Regions from separate parts of the Homo sapiens genome. Here region 1 is linked to region 2. The links are contacts of gene promoters, found by promoter capture Hi-C in human tissues and cell types (Jung and others, 2019). All regions are on one chromosome and are shown on one strand. Each heading gives the region's core, a stretch centred on a gene start or on the middle of the fragment in contact. The rest is flanking DNA. Distances are from core to core; before and after follow the strand shown. Region 1 holds the start of SYNE4 (spectrin repeat containing nuclear envelope family member 4). Region 2 holds the start of OVOL3 (ovo like zinc finger 3).

The links. Contacts are between HindIII fragments. The study calls those that stand out against the background at their distance.
Region 1: the fragment with the promoter of SYNE4 here is called in contact with the fragment with the promoter of OVOL3 in region 2 in 3 of the 25 tissues and cell types used here (dorsolateral prefrontal cortex, small bowel and spleen).

Annotation. Positions count from the first base shown.
Region 1 is chr19:36,007,393-36,010,092 of GRCh38, reverse strand. It overlaps SYNE4 (spectrin repeat containing nuclear envelope family member 4), which reads left to right and starts at 1,280. Exons shown (of 8, transcript NM_001039876.3): 1 at 1,280-1,539; 2 at 1,726-1,876. The coding sequence starts at 1,412. It overlaps ALKBH6 (alkB homolog 6), which reads left to right. Exons shown (of 7, transcript NM_032878.5): 7 at 540-973. The coding sequence ends at 803. RefSeq lists enhancers at 1,027-1,566, 1,567-2,108. The HindIII fragment of the contact is 19,934 bases long and covers 1-2,151 here.
Region 2 is chr19:36,109,788-36,112,487 of GRCh38, reverse strand. OVOL3 (ovo like zinc finger 3) reads right to left here and starts at 1,345. Exons shown (of 4, transcript NM_001302757.2): 1 at 1,192-1,345; 2 at 1,055-1,119. The coding sequence starts at 1,285. It also overlaps a transcript of WDR62 not described here. RefSeq lists enhancers at 486-1,115, 1,116-1,746. The HindIII fragment of the contact is 22,945 bases long and covers 1-2,700 here.

The sequences.
Region 1 (2,700 bases), core at 31-2,530, 100 kb after region 2:
AACACGCCGACCCACTCCTTGAGGCTTGCCCTCGAGCCCTGCATGCTCCTGGATGCTCTGACACTCCCTCAGCTGTGCGGTTGTCCTCTAATGTCCTGATGTCCTTGGGAACCCCCACTGCCTCTAACCTCTGCCTCACTCTCTCCTCACCTGGTCCTGGCTTCAGCCATGCTCTCTCAGCCCAGCTCTGCCTGTATTTCCTGGGGACTGCCTATTCCTGGGTCCCAGCCCCAGCCTCAGCCCCTTTGAGATCCCAGCTGCAGCTCCCACCGGCCGCTGACCCTTTGACGCCCCCATCTGCCACCTAGATCCTGCCCCCTCCCGAGGGACGGCAGAGCCCTCGCCCTCCCTTTCCAGCAGCCCCAGCCCAGGCCCCAGCAATTTTCACTCCTGAACCACCAAAGCCTCCATCATTGTGAGCACACTTGCTCTTCAGCTTTTGCCCCTGGGGACTAGCTGATCCCCGGAGGCTACCGACCTCTCGCCCACCCCCACCCCCCGACTTCTTGAGCCCTGCTGACCCTCAACCCGCCCTGCAGCCTCGGCCTCCGCCCCGGCCCACCACCTCGCTACTGCTGGAACCGCGCAGCCTGCTGGTGCTCCGCGGCCCCGCCTACACGCGTCTTCTCCACGGCATCGCCGCCGCCCGCGTAGACGCGCTGGACGCCGCCTCCTCGCCGCCCAATGCGGCAGCCTGCCCGTCGGCGCGGCCGGGAGCCTGCCTGGTGCGCGGCACCCGGGTCTCGCTGACCATCCGCCGCGTGCCCCGCGTGCTGCGCGCCGGCCTCCTGCTGGGCAAGTGACCGCCAGGGCCGGGACCCCTCGGATTCCCAGGTTCCTGCCCCTTTGGGGCTGCTGTGACTCCGCGACCTAGGAACCGTGGGCAAAGGGGGCTCCCCTGGGTTATTTATTTTCCCAATAATTTTGTGTGAGCTACAGAAGACCCCATACCAAATAAACAAAAAAATCTTTCCTTGGTTTTATATTTTTATTTTTTAGGGGCCAGATGCTTGGTTTCCTGAGGGGAGCGGCATCTAGGGTCTTAAATGAATGGGGTAGGCCCTGGAGGTCCGATTTCTGGGTTCCCAGTGGGGCAGAATCCAGGGCTCTTGAGGAGGTGGCGCAGGGGTTCTATCTGGAACCCTCTTGGATGGCGTGGAGTGATGCTGGGAGATTTAGCTACTGGCCTGCTAGGGAGGAAGGAGTTAAGTGACTCTTCTGTCACCTGAGCTGGGCATCAAATGGCCGGGTCCAGGTTCCTCTTGGAAGGGGCGGAGCCAGACCTGTCCTGGGCCTCTCCTGCAGCCTCAGGCCCGGGTGACTCCAGCGGAGGAGCTCTGGGACACCCTTGTCTAGGGAAGAGGTCTTACTGGCTGCCCTCACCTGACTTTGTGTCCCCAGGCCCCCAGCCATGGCCCTGTCCCTGCCTCTGGGCCCTAGACTTGGCTCAGAGCCCCTCAACCACCCACCGGGAGCACCTAGAGAGGCGGACATTGTTGGATGCACCGTCTGCCCCGCGTCCGGAGAGGAGAGCACGAGGTGGGGGCCGGGGCTTTGGAAGCTTGTTCCCAAAAGGGTAGGCGTGGTGGCAGGGGCCATGTGAGGGTAGGAGGTGCCATGGCTGTGATCGCCTGGGGACATAGGAGAGGCCACCAGGGTTGGGGTGACGGTAGGCTGAAAAGTGAGGTGTCGAGACTCACCCAGTCACCGCCCCCTGCCTCCTAGCCCAGAGCAGGCCCAGACCCTGGGACAGGACTCCTTGGGCCCTCCTGAGCACTTCCAGGGTGGGCCAAGGGGCAATGAGCCTGCCGCTCACCCCCCGAGATGGTCAACACCCTCTTCCTACGAGGACCCAGCTGGGGGCAAACACTGTGAGGTGAGCTGAGGTGACCCAGACCCCTTGTGCCAGCCCCACCTCCTCTCTGTCCCCTGGAGTCTGGCCTCCATACTGAGGACCGGGTGATGATTCTGGAAAGGTGTTGGGTGTCTGTAGGGGGAGGGACCTTCTGGAAAAGTGTTTCAATATCTGACCAACTGGGGAGACGTATTTCTTTCTTTCTTTTTTTTTTTGAGATGGAGTCTCTCTGTCACCTAGGCTGGAATGCAGTGGTGAGATCTCTGCTCACTGCAACCTCCGCCTCCCAGGTCCCAGTGATTCTCCTGCCTCAGCCACCCGAGTAGCTGGGATTACAGGCACATGCCACCATACCTGGCTAATTTTTTGTATTTTTAGTAGAGATGGGTTTTCGACTTGTTGGCCAGGCTAGTCTCGAACTCCCGACCTCAGGTGATCCACCCACCTCAGCCTCCCGAAGTGCTGGGATTACAGGCGTGCGTCACCGTGTCCAGCCATATTTCTTTTTTATTAAAAAAAAAAAAGTAGAGATGATGTCTCACCATGTTGCCCAGGCTGGTCTTGAACTCCTGGGCTCAAGTGATCCTCGGGCCTCGGCCTCCCAAAGTGCTGGGATTACAGATGTGAACCACTGCGCCCGGCTGAGAAGCATTTCATCATTGCTCCTGGTGTAGCCCCATTCTTCTTGGGGGGTACCCAGCCCCGCTCCCTGTCCAGACCCCCCAGGCCTCACACATCCAAGTTTCCAGGAGCTTTGAAAACCTGGAGACCTTGAACTAGATATCTGTCCTCAGGCCTGGCTCCACTGGGAAGGCCCCCCCAGTGGGAGCCATCCTGGTGCAGAC
Region 2 (2,700 bases), core at 96-2,595:
AGTGAAGTGGTATGATGTCAGGTCACTGCAACCTCCGCCTCCCGGGTTCAAGCGATTCTAGTGCCTCAGCCTCCCCACGATTACACGATTGTAGGCATGCGCCACATGCCCAGTTAATTTTTTTATTTTTTGTAGAGATGGGGTTTCACCATGTTGGCCAGGCTGGTCTTGAATTCCTGACCTCAAGCAATCCACCCACCTTGGCCTCACAAAGTGCTGGGATTACAGGCATGAGCCACTATGCCCGGTCTATTTTTCTAATTTTATTGTTTTTTTTGAGGGGGGATGGAGTCTAGATCTGTTTCCCAGGCTGGAGTGCAGTGGCGCAGACTCGGCTCACTGCATCCTCTGCCCTGCCTCCTAGGTTCAACTGATTCTCCTGCCTCAGCCTCCTGAGGAGCTGGGATTACAGGCACGTGCCACCATGTCTGGCTAATGTTTGTAATTTTAGTAGAGACAAGGTTTCAACATGTTGGCCAGCCTGGTCTCGAACTCATGACCTCAAGTGATTCACCCGCCTCGGCCTCCCAAAGTGCTGGAATTACAGGCTGACTAATTTTATTGTCTATACATGCAGCCCCAACCAGAATATAAGCTCCATAAAATTGTGGATTTTTGTCTTATTCCCGCTGAATATAACAGCCCATGCCTAGAACAGTGCCTTGCTTTCATGAATATATTACATTCCGGCTGGCGCTTTCCTTCCTCCAATGCATGCACAGCTGAAAAAGCCCTTATCTCCCATCGCACTCCTGTTGCCTTGTCCCATGTTCTGACATAAAGCGGATCATCCACATGTGGGGATGAATCTTGTGCCCCGCTGGAAGAGATCCCTGTGGCTGCCGGCCCTGGTGCCTGGGGTGAGACCTAACAGTAGAGAGCTCACTACTAGGAAAGGAGAGGCATTCCCAACACAGAGAAGTAGGGGCGGACAGGTCCCGAGGCTGGAGGGCGTGTGCAGATGGGTCGGGGGAGCAAGGGGCTGTCAGCTTCATTAAGGCTGAGAGCAGGCAGGAGCGAAACAGCTGGCTTTGCTAGCCAGTTACACACTCACCGCTGTCCACGGATCCCTGACACTGGACGACTGTTGTGCCGGTGGCCCCCCCAGGCTGCTGCAGTCTGAGGAGAAAAGCCAGATGGTGACACTGCGTCTCTCCTGCCCCTTACCTCCAGGCACAGTGAGGGGCCCACCTGGGATATAGGCATCTCCCCGGAGCTGGTCAGGCAGATGGCCCCAGTTGGGGGGCTGTGGACGCCGACTCCTGACCAGGAAGGCGCGGGGCATGCCCTCCGGAAGGCTCTCCACACACAGGGGCTGCTTCCACCTGCTGTCAGACCTCAGCCCCAGGATGACTATCCCTGGTGGGAAAGGAGGGGAAGCCTCTGAGGAACCTCATTCTCTTCATGCAAATTTCCTGGCTGGCCCTGGGAGTGGACTAAGCTGGCTCAGGTTACCCCTGCCTGGGGACCTGCCCATCTTCTCCCAGGTTTTGGAGGGAACCATCCAGCCTCCAGGGGTGGACAAGCACTAGGACCACCAAGCAGAGCCAGGCAAGGGGAGATGGGCCTGGGGAGCTTTTGAGGATAGGAAGAAGAAACAAGGCCCCAGGGGGACTGTCTCCCAGGGGTTGAGGGTCTGTTTGCCAGGCAAATCAGTCACCAGGGGACATCCAGCAGCCTGCCTGGTTATTCAAATCACAGCAGCTGTCTGAGGACACTGAAGGGGCCCCCTGCTGTGATTGCCCTGCTCTGTAGGGTGCAGGGAGGACAGCAGATCTGGATAAATCAGGGCAAAATGAGGATCCAGGCTGTGCATCCTCAGGTAGGATGCCCCACCTCTCTGATCTTCAGATTCCCAGGGCTAACATTCAGCCAGAAGCACTGTTCAGGTGTAGCAGGCACTAAAATACTAGTTTGTTAATAATCTAGCCCCTAGTTACTGCCTGGGACAACACTCTTCCTCCCTCCCACAGTCTGGAAAGTAAAAGGGGGTCTCCTATTTTTTTTTCTTTTTTTGAGACGGAGTTTCACTCTTGTTGCCCAGGCTGGAGTGCAGTGGCACCATCTTGGCTCACTGGAACCTCCACCTCCCGGGTTCAAACGATTCTCCTGCCTCAGCCTCCTGAGTAGCTGGGACTACAGGCATGCACCACCACACCGGGCTAATTTTTGTATTTTTGGTAGAGACAGAGTTTCACCATGTTGGCCAGGCTAGTCTTGAACTCCTGACGTCAAGTGATCCGCCTGCCTTGGCCTCCCAAAGTGCTGGGATTACAGGCATGAGCCACCGCACCTGGCCCAAAGGGGGTCTCTTGACACAGCCAGGGGCTCCCAGGACCCTACCCCGGCACACTGGCCAAGCTGTTTTACACTTGATTCTTAGCCAGAAGACTAAGAAGCAATCCAAGCTCTGTTTTTTAATTTTTTTTTTTTGAGGCGGAGTTTTGCTCGTTGCCCAGGCTGGAGTGCAATGGCGTGATCTTGGCTCCTCTATGACCTCCGCCTCCTGGGTTCAAGTGAGTCTCCTGCCTCAGCCTTCCAAGTAGCTGGGATTACAGGGGCACACCACTGCACCCAGCTGATTTTTTGTGTTTTTTGTAGAGATGGGGTTTCACCATGTTGGCCAGGCTGGTCTCAAACTCCTAAATGCAGGTGATCCGCCCGGCTCAGCCTCCCAAAGTGCTGGGATTACAGGCGTGA